Regions from separate parts of the Homo sapiens genome. Here region 1 is linked to region 2. The links are contacts of gene promoters, found by promoter capture Hi-C in blood cells and fetal thymus (Javierre and others, 2016). All regions are on one chromosome and are shown on one strand. Each heading gives the region's core, a stretch centred on a gene start or on the middle of the fragment in contact. The rest is flanking DNA. Distances are from core to core; before and after follow the strand shown.

Evidence for each region. Contacts are between HindIII fragments. The CHiCAGO score rates a contact against its expected background, and 5 or more counts as called.
Region 1: a fragment that was not itself captured here is called in contact with the fragment with the promoter of GASK1A in region 2 in 1 of 17 cell types (endothelial precursors); the score reaches 5.9 in endothelial precursors.

The regions. Positions count from the first base shown.
Region 1 is chr3:44,177,226-44,182,892 of GRCh38, reverse strand. No RefSeq gene overlaps it. Among named protein-coding and RNA genes, the nearest start is that of TOPAZ1, 62 kb to the left of the region's middle. The HindIII fragment of the contact is 2,248 bases long and covers 193-2,440 here.
Region 2 is chr3:42,977,964-42,983,458 of GRCh38, reverse strand. GASK1A (golgi associated kinase 1A) reads right to left here and starts at 4,148. Exons shown (of 5, transcript NM_001129908.3): 1 at 3,814-4,148. The coding sequence starts at 3,816. The HindIII fragment of the contact is 11,487 bases long and covers 2,642-5,495 here.

The DNA of each region.
Region 1 (5,667 bases), core at 67-2,566, 1.2 Mb before region 2:
AGGCCCTGCAGATCTAGCTCCCGCTTATCTTGCTAATCTCATCATTCTACTTCTCCACTTGATGACTAGGCTGTAGTCATACTTGTATTCTTTCCGTTCTTAAGTATGCTAACTTCTTTCCCCCCTTGGGACTTTGATACTTGCAGTGCAGCATCCACCTAATGCAAGGGGAACTCGTGCAAACATGAAGCTTATGTTTCTTGTTGTTCCACGAGTAATTAAATCCTTTGATCTAGGAGTACTTTGACCATGAAATGGTGGCAGGCTAATTTGTTAACTTGCAAGTAGGGTAAAATCTCAGACCCTTTACAATTATTGACATTCACCATGCCAGTGTTCTTGGGAGGAAACCTTAACTCAGAGGAGGTCAAATATGCCTGGCTGCTTACTGAACACATTGCTTTTGAACAGACCTGGCAAATCACTTCTCAAGTACTATAGCTTCCCCCATCCCCTTCCCCACTATACCCACTTTCAACTGACTATTAAACCATACTGCACTAAAAATTTCAGCTCTAATCAATGGAAGAAGCAGGAGTGATTATCTCTCAACGCTCATAGCAGTCCTATTTGGCCTATGAGTAAAGTGGGTGGCTCCTGGGGACAAATGTTGGCAATCATGGCTTTTCACCAAACTAGACACAGTGAAAACTATTTAGGAAGTGCAACAGATTGAAAATGTGACAGATTTGACGAATGCTTGCTTTTCTGTATGAATTTCAAAAGGAAGCCAGGCACAATTCATTTTCTTACAGGAAGAAATGCAGTATGCATTTCTGAATTCTCCAATGTATGCTCACAACCTGGTGAGAAGCAATTTGGATTTGGTTACTATCAAAAGTTGTTTTTCACATTGATATTATGATGACCTCCTTTTCAAAAGAAGCAGGCAGGGAAGACTGGAGAACTCCAGTAGCACATATGACCAGCTGAAGATGGTTACTTCACTTGTTCCTATCAGTTCAATTTGGGGAAATAATTTGGGCAAAGATTATGCAGACAGGAAACATTACTGCTCAGGGTGCTATTTGTTTCTTAGAATTTTATCGTGCTTTTTAACAAAGACAAGTGCGAACTGGTGACTTTACCTCGTGTGTCTAAACTAAGACTGCCTCTAAATCCTGCCCAGCTGCCTACATGTATAGTTCCATAATCCTTGGCTTGTCTGACCCCCTGCCTTCTCTTTCCTGTGAATAGACAAAGACATGGCCAGCCTAACCCTGCTGTCTGCTCTGGGGTCGGCAGTGTAGCTGAATCCATGGATCTAAATTCATTATCTGATTTGAGACAGACAATGAATGGGCAAAAGGGGAAATCGTGACAGATGGCGATAGAGCACACAAATAGACGGTGATGCCAGGAAAGGATGTCACTATCTTCTCAAGACTGCATCTTGAGCTGGGTGCAGTGGCTCACGTCTGTAATCCTAGCACTTTGGGGTGGGTGGATCACTTGAGGTCAGGAGTTTGAGACCAGCCTGGCCTGCATGGTGAAACCCCATCTCTACTAAAAATACAAAAATTAGCCCGGCATGGTGACAGGTGCCTGTAATTCCAGCTAGTTGGGAGGTTGAGGCAGGCAGGAGAATCGCTTGAACTCAGGAGGCAGAGGTTGCAGTGAGCTGGGATCGTGCCACTGCACTGTATATAGCCTGGGTGACAGAGTGAGACTCTGTCTCCAAAAAAAAAAAAAAAAAAAAATTGCATCCTGGAACAAGAGAATAATACAGTTAGGTGTTTGTGGTGCCAAACCATGGCAGATTCTGGGAGAAGCCCCTGGATTTGCTTTCCCTTGAGAAAATTTGGACTGAAGCTAGAATACAAGGTATGCTAATTACTTGCTTGATCGATTGACAGGGTTTCACTCTGTTACTCGGGCTGGAGTGCAGTGGCGCAGTTAGTTCACTGCAGACTCAAACTCCTGGGCTCAAGCAGTCCTCCCACCCCAGCCTCCCAAGTAGGTAGAACTACAGGATCATGACTGACCCAAGGAATAGTTTAGAATTTTACTAGGTTAATTAGAGAAAATATACCAATCAATAGCCCTTTGGTCAACCTGAATGATAGCCGGCTGGATCATTATTTGGGTAGCTTTTGTTTGTTTTGGTTATGTTTGTGATATTGGTTCTTTTGTAGCCCTTAGCTTTGAACTTGCATGTACCTGGCAGCTGATACATTGTAATGTTGTAATTCAGGGTGGCATCTAGGTAAAGATATAAAAAAGTTGCATCTTACTGCTTACACAGTGTCTCAGAATTCACTTTGCTTTTTGACTATACCAGATGTGGATGTGGATGAAAAACCATGCAATCAAGCATTCAGGAATCAGAAGGGTGTCCACGAGGGTGAATACCTATGTGATATGGTCACCCCATCCCACTGGCTCCCCTGGAACTTTGGGATGGCAGATGGGTGGTGCTGTATAGTGAAACCTGGAAGCTTGGGTTTGTGAGAACTTGTTTCTTGGTTGCAAGGGTATGATCATGGCCTGGGACCAGTGGAACTCAAAGTTTACTGAGCAGTGGCCTTTAATGACCACCTCAATTAAGAAAAATAAGTGATATTTGAGACAAAGGATGTTTTTGCTTGGAAGGTTGGGGAAATGACACCATTATATTAACTGATGTATGATGTAGTAAGCATTACTTTAATCTCTGTAATCATTATAGAGTATAATAAAAGATTTCTAGCTTCATGTATAGAGCTAAATGAAAATCAAGCCAATGTAGCAGATGATCTCCAGGATGAACAGGATGAAAAGATGTTTCGGGAAGTAGTCTTAAAACCTCCAATTGATGTAATTCCCATCAAAACTTGCCAAAAGACACCATGGAGTTGAATGCTTCTATCGATATCTATTAAAAATGTGCAAACAATGGGTGGGGAGGGGGGAGAATATAGAAGGGAAGAGTGGAACAATTGGTACCATATTATATATCAGAACATTTGTGAATGGGGCAGAGTGTTGTTAACATGCTTTGCAGAAATAATCCCAACTCTTCATTGGAGGATGTAGATCTTAGTGGTTGTCTGTATTTTAGCATATTTATTTTGTTGTACAACAAATATGGTGGAAATTACTATATTAAGAATAAGAAAATACCTCAAACATGTATCAACATGTTTTAATGGGGATCAGGAAGTGAGCTGGAAGGAGGTTAGCAGCTGCTTCTGTAGTATTTCCTTGAGCCTCAGGGATAGCTGAGGATCTTCTTGCAGCATTAACTCAAAGAATTGTTGGGATGATATGCTACTGATAACATAAAATCCATCTGAGGATTATGTACAGGTGTCGCATGTTGTCAAAATTTGTTATTGAATAATGAATAATTGATATTGAGATGCAGCTGCCCTAAAGAATCAAGACTAGTCATATGCCTGAGGGGCTGTAAGGCCAGCTGGCATAAAGCCGAAAGAGCTCAGAGCCCATGGCTTCCCTGAGCTGGGGTCAGCAGCAGTCACTCAGTCTCGTCTCTTATGACCACACATGTTCCGAGTTCAGAATGGCTGGGACACCAGCAGCTGTGCCCAGGAGTCACAGGACCTATGCTCTGCCATTGCTGTGCATGCCAGGATATTTCATGCTCTCTATCCTTTATTAAAGCTAAACACACTTGGTGCTAGTTGAGGCCTGTTGTGTCTTATGAGATTGTCTATCTGAACCCAAGTCTACAGGGGCTAGTAGAATAGATATTGCAGTGACTTTATTATGTATTTTATATTGTTTTATTCTTAGTTGTAGTATTCATAGCCACAAGGAACAGTTAATGGAAAGTAGAAAGTATGAGGAAATTGATTTTGAAATATATGTTTAAAAAGAAAAATGATAATTCCTCAAATTTGCTTCAAGATGCTCTGCCTAGAACTGTAAGTTGCACTTATCTGATCAAGATCTTTATATAGCAGATCAACATGTCTCTCTGCTTAAGCAACCAGTGCTAAAAAGGAAATATGGTGAAAATTACTCCAATTTGGCTTTCTATTTATTGGGAATAAATACTATGCACATCTGTAATATGGTATTCATAGAGAAATACTTGCAAAAAGCAGCCTAAAACTTTCACTCAAATCTTGCCTGTCATTTAAAAAAAATCATGAAGGTTGTGATAAATATATATTTGGTATTACATAGAGGAAAACAACACACAGCTGGGCCCTTGGGAAGGTGGAGGGTGGAAGGAGGGAGAAGATCAGAAGAAATAACTAATGGGTACTAGGCTTAATACCTGGGTAATGAAATAATCTGTACAACAAACCCCCATGACACATGTTTACCTATGTAACAAACCTGCACATGTACCTTGAACTTAAAAGTTTAAAAACAAGTAATATATTTGATCTTTCTCCCTGGTTCCTGGCACACAGCTCCTAAAAACCCTTGGAATTCCCAGAGTGATAGGAGTAACTTTACTATGCTAATGAGATGACACATGGCTAAAGGGTTCACGGATAGCTTTAAGATGGAGCTGGTTGCGGAAAGAACAACTGTGTGATCAGAGGGCTGGAACTTTCAGCACCACCCCCAGCCCTCCAGGGCCAATGACTTAATCAATTATTCCTATGGCACTCCATTAAAAACTCTTTAATGACAGGTTTGAGAGAGTTTCCAGGTTGGTGAATGTATCTATATGCTGGGAGAATGGTGCACCCCAGCTCCATGGAGACAGAGCTCCTGTACTCGGGACCCATCTGACCTTGTTCTGTATACCTCTTCATCTGGCTGTTCATCTGTATCCTTTGTAATGTCCTTTAGGGTAAACCAGTGATAGTAAATAAAGTGCTTTCCTGGGTTCTATGAGCTGTTCTAGCAAATTTATAGAACAAAGAGTGGGGAGGGTTTGTGGAAAATTTTGATTTGTAGCTAAGTTGAACAGAAGGGTGGGTCACCTGGGGACTCAATACTTGCAACTGGCACCTGAAGTGAGGGCACTTTTATGGGACTGGGCCCTTAAACCTGTGGAGTCTGTTAACTACAGGCAGTGTTAGAATTAAACTGAATGGTAGGACACCCAGTTAGTGTCTGGATAGTTGGGTAATTTAGTGTGAGGAAAAAGCCCACACATTTGGTGTCAGAAGTGCTTGTGGGTAAAAATACCCCAGAATCTTATAAAAAGAAGTCAGTTGATTTTATCTCAACACACAATAATTCTAAACATCTAATATGGACTTCTATTCTTTACTAACAAAGATCATCCAAAAGTACTTGAAGCACTGAACATGAGTCATGAAACATCATGAAACATTTTGAGAGAGCAAAAATGATTTCATTCAAGTCCCAGCTCAGTTGTTACCTTTCTAGGGCCAGCCTGAATGACTGTGTCTTCCCCAGGCTCCTTCCCCTTGGTTATCTTCCACTCCAGATATTGGGATTCTTTTTCTCATTACCCCCTTCTGTTTTGTGGCTTATCATGTTCCCCTCCTATAATGTGAGCTTCATGTGGGCAATGGCAATCTCTCTTGTTTCACTACTGTGTCCCCATAGTGCCTAAGAATATTGTCTGGAACATGATAACCATTCAATGACAATTTGAACATATCAAATATATCTTAATCCCCCCATAAAGGTAGTTATTCTGTAACAATTAACAAAAATGGAGTATGATATGCATTTTTCCTGTAACACGGTATCTTAAAAAATGATGGCATGACACCAAGTATTTATATAGTC
Region 2 (5,495 bases), core at 2,899-5,398:
ACTACTTGAGGGTAAATTTCATCTATACTAGATCCTTACTTAGAGAAGAGTCCCAGAAGCATCCCCTTGACTGGTATTGAATGAAAGGCACCTGTGACTTCCTTACCATTTTAGACCCTAACAAAAAGCAAACCTATTTTTGTGGGTCGTTTGTAAAGCCCCCAATCTTACAGCACCTTTGAGACACCAAGTATTTTCACCTCCATGACTCCATTTGCTCCTCACAATGACTCATTTTACAGATAAGGGGCTAAGGTTCAGAGCAAGGCAGCGCTTACCCAGAGCCACACGGTGACCTAGCCCAGCACAAACCCCATTCTGACTGCAAACCCCAGGCCTTTCCTCTGCCACTCCAAGCCACACCACATCCCTCAATTCTATGATGGGGCTGTAGTGACTGTGACAGGACCTACATGGAGAGTGGAGGGGAAGAACTAGGAGACCCGGGCCCTAGCCTGGCTCTAAGTGACCCTAAAGAGGCCACATCCCTTTTCCAGCTTCAGCTACTTGTCCTCTGAGTCTTAACCTCCAGGGATTTTAGCTCTTGGTTCTCCCAAGGAGGACTGGCCCATGTGGGCTCCCCTGGGACTCCATTGCCCCCACTGCTGCCTGCCTGATGACCTGCCCACAGCACAGAGTGAAGACAGGCAAGAGGAAACTCCTCCCACAGCACGCTGGGCCCTGGGAGGGTAGTTACAGTAAGAGCTTGGATAGAGAAAGAGGCCGGAGCAATTCATTCTTGTGAATTTTTCTGATTTCCACTTAGCTGGGCACTCAGGTCCTCATTTCCATGGATAATGAGAAGCTGGCCACATGCCACTGAAATCAGCCCCAATCCTGAAGTGACCTAAATGTCCAAAAATGGGGAGATGATTATCAAAATCACGGTACTGAGCATTAAATGTATGGTTATAAAAGATTTTTCTAGAGATGTAGACATGGAAACGTGCTTTGATATAAACTGAAGTAAAACAAATCAGACTGCAAAATTCCATGTGTGGTGAAATCTCAGCTCTTTAAAATAATACTCAAAGAGAATAGGAAATATGCCAAAATGATAATCATGGTTCCTGTAGAAGTTGTGTATTTTTTCTCAAAAATCAGGAGGAAAACATTTTTTAATTGGCAGTAATAGTTTCAACTTTCTCTATCAATATTTTTCTTTTTTAATTTTTAACCCAACACATATATATCTGATTCTATCAATATTTTTCATCAAGTACAGAGTCCTTGGCAAACACCAAACCTCCCACCACCACTGCAAAGAAAGAAACTGACAAGTGTTCCAATCTTCGCTTTAGAAAAATACACACCAAGCCATGGCAATGACCCCTGACTCCTCAGGATAATCAAAAATGCCCCCGCAGATACTGCAGCTCAATGCTCTTTTCTTTTTTCTTTTTTTCAAAAGGACATTTAAGGATTCTATACTTTTATTTGTATACTTCTAACCCAGAGTTTCCCATCATACGTATCTTGGATCAATAATAGGATGGCATTAGGGAAATACTGAATAAAGGATACCGTATTCAAACAAGCTGGGCAAGTTCAAATCTCAGTGTAATGAATTAAAAGACAATACTCTGTGGAAGGACCCTCAAAGAGATATAGCATGTGATATATGTGATATCATATAATGGGAAATGATATAGCATCTATCATTTCCCAAAAACTATTTTAGGACTATCTCAAGGAATGACCACTCTGTGGACATAGGGATATCTTGGGAAGTGCAGCTTTGAGCCCCAGCTTTCTCCCGTTCTCTCAGCCTTCTTGCCCTGTGGTTCTCAGCCCTGGCAGCACACTGGGCTCACTTGCAGAGCCTGAAAACATCCCTTGGTCTGGGTCTCATCTGGATTTGGGCTGGGGGATGGGGGCAGCCTGAGTCAGGGCTGAGAACCACTTCTTCCCCACACCTTTTTAGTTGTTCATGCTAAGCACAGCTCAACACTAGAATTGAGATCCAATCTCAAAATTATTCACATATCACCCATTTTTGGAGCTAAATGGCACCTTGAATAACATCTAGTCCAATCTCTCATCTAACAGAAGAGGAAACTAAGGTCCTCAAAGGATTCCTAGCCCCCTGTCTCCTCCCATGCTGCTTCTAGCCAGTGCCAGGCTGCCCTGTGGTCTCTGGACCTCAAGACCCTTCATTCAGATGGAGAAGCAAAGGACAGCCTTCAGATCTCCAAGGCCATTTCACTGCCAGAGGATGACCATCAGGCCCCTCTCTCTGCAAGTGAACCCTGAGACAGTGAAATGTTGACACAAGTCCTCTTCCTAACACAATACCAGAACCCAGAGCCAGGGACGTGAAACCGGGAAGCTGCAATGACTCACAGAACGGGAAGCTTACGCTGGCAGTGGGGCAAACACACCAATGTTCCCCTAGGCAGCCTGAGCAGAAGGCAGGTACCATCTCTCCTCCAGGCACTCTGCTTCAGCCGCAGACCACAGAGCCTCTGCTACATTTGCCTTTAAAGCCAGGAGACTCCAGCATGCTAATGCCCCTCGGAGTGGATGGCTGTGGCCTGAGTTCTGGTAACACTCTTGCTCCTAAACAGGGAATTTGTAATAGGATATCTCCACACTTTTCGTTTCACATCCTGTACCCCCAATCATTCCCCCTTTTGAAGCTTAAGATTCCACTATTTCCTTCTCTTAGCAGCTTTGAGAAAAAACCTGAAGCTGGATAGGTGTTAGGAGGGGTGAAACATACACACACCCCTAGCCTCAAAGGTACCCTTCCCTGAGCCCCCAGCTCCTTATGACCAGCCCTCCACCTCTGTTCCAGCCACCTGCCAGGCCCCCCTGCACACAAAGGAGCTGTTCTCACAGAGACCCTCCATCCTACAGCGCAGTCTCTAGACAGCCTTCTAAACCCCAGGCCCAGCAAAACTCCCCACAAAGCATCTCCAGTGGGTTCCGATCTGCCTTCTGTGAGCTTGGAAGGAAAGGGAAGAGGCGAGCAGGCACGGAAGCAGCCAGGGGAGCCCAGTGAACTGCAGGAGCCCAGTTGGGGTTGCAGGGGTTTTCTGCTGCGGGAGAAGCAGAGCAACTAACCAGCGGCCGGGCCTGAGGGACGCCCCTTTCCTGGGGTTGCATGTGTCCTTTAGCTAAGCCGCCTGGGCCACATTCTCGATGGGTTTTTCTTTTCTGCCTGTTAGTGTCTGTGAAGTTGATCAATGGAAGGGCCACGTCCACAAGATCCTGGTTTCATCGTGACATCCCAGACCCACCAGTGCTTCCACATCTGCCCAACAGTCCTCCTGTCGGGGAGGTAGAGGAAGGCGGATTGGAACCTTACTAGAGCCAATTTAACTCAATGTTAATTTAGTTATTAAATGTTAATAAACGTTAGGACATTATTTTTAATATCAATACATAGCTAAATTAGAGAAGATAGTATAAAATTCACATGAACTTTGGAGAGTATTAAAATGACTTCAAAAGCATCTCATCAGAGGCTGCCGTGGGTTCCCCAGGGAACGCTCCCCTCTCCCTGCCTTGTGGATTGCATGAAGATTGCAGAGTTGCGAGTGGGTTACGGTTAGGTCAAGGAGTGCAGATTAGTAATAAAAGCCCCCTTATTACGGTCCGCCCCACTAAGAGCGGCAGGAAAGCCGATCGCCCCCAGCTCTGGTGCAGAAATGAAAGCCGCCGCCGCCCCATGCAACTTTCGGGGAACAACTCCGGCCTCGGGAGGCCGCGCAGGCTGCGCGCGCCCTGGGCCGCTGCGCGTTGACTGCAGCCACCTGTCCTGGTGATCGCCCCACCCTCCGCTCGCGCGTTCCTTCCCGCGAGTCCTACCATGTCCCCGGCGGTGCCCCGGCCGGCTCCTCGGCGCGCTCAGCCGGCTCGCAGACTCATCCCGCCTCCCCTTGGCCGCCCCCGGCGCCGTGGCTCGCCAGGCTTCCCAGGATGCGCGGCTACTCGGCTGGGGCGGGTTTCCCGGACTGAAGGTGCACACGTTCTCTGCAGCCAAGTGGCCCTGCGCCAACTCTCGGGAGATCGCTGCACACCGGGATACTCCGCGGGTGGGGAATACACGCCGGATCTACTGAGATCTACGGGGATCTGAGGGAGCCTACCCGCGGCCGCGAGCCTCTGCGGTCTACTCGGGACTTTTGCAGAGTTTGCAAAGTCCCTGCCGCGCGTCCCGGCCCAGCTTCCCCATTCCCCTGAAAGCGCGGGAGGGGGAAGCTCCCTTCACAATAAAAGCCCTGCCGGGGGCTCGGCCAGCCGCAGTCTTCTGGTCTTCTGGAGTAGGGGCCCAGGTGCTAGGAAGGAAAGGTCTACGCCCTGACTGCCCGCCTGACGGGTGATGCACCAAGGCTGGACGGTGAGGGACGCCTCTAAGGTGTGAGGGTGCTTGGTGAGTTCGCTGCAACTCAGCAATATGGCTGAGTGTTGCCCAAACTGCCACCCTCTCCTGCCAAGCAGGACAAGTCTTTTTCTTTACTGTCGCTTGTCAGAAGGACAAGTCTTTTTTTACTGTCACTTCTTCGCCTTGTTTGGGTTCAGTCCCCAAGAGGATTTGGAAGGAAAATCCGTTGACCACTAAGCTAATTAACAATGAAGAGTTTTTGTCCTTGAGAACTAATCACTGTTAAAGTCACTGAAGTAAGTGGCTGATACCTCTCTGCTTTGGATGCACAGACAGTGCCTTTGTGTCCCCTGAGTCACCTACTGCCAACAAAGGCACAGTCAGAGCAAGACCTGAGAGTCTATCCGTTCCCCGTTGGGGAATGTCCTGGGCTTAGGGGTTCTGTAGTCCCAAAATCAGGGCTAGCCCCACTATTAACAGCTGGATGACCATCGACCAGTCCCCAGACGTCTTTATGACTTGTGTCCCCCAGTGGCCCAATGTTTGGACCCCAGGATTATTAAGAGCCTGTAGACAATGGATGGAGGCGAGGCAGAGTCAGCAGTAGGGTGCTCTGAGAGAATTTGGGGGCCAGGCTGAAAAATTAGCCTCCAGTACTGAAACTAACAGGAAGCATCATTAGCTAGATGAAGACAGGCATCTTCCCAGCAGTCTCCTGCCCCAGAATGATCTGAGGTTATCACTGATGGCAGTGCTTCTAAAGGGAAGCAAAGATCCAGAGAGTCCCCTTAAATTGTGTATGTGTGTATGGGCAGGAGGAACAGATGAAGGGAAAGTATTCGGTCCTTAACATTCCAGATGCTTTCTGTACATTATTTCATTTAATAACCACAAACGATCCTAAAAGGAAAACTTTTGCAAATTAGGAAAGTCAGGATTAGGGAGGTGAAGTAACTTTCCTGAGACCAGATCGCCAGTAAACAGTTTAGCAAATCCAAGTCTATTTGCCAGAACATGAAACAAAGAGGAAGACTTGATATGGCAGGAACAGGAGGCAGGATGTAGCACTGCAAACTGCAGCTTGTCTGTGCATATGGACTACTGAAAGGACAGAGAGTTTGAGCCCTGGTTGGGAAATGAGGGAAGAGGGTGGAGGACAGTACAA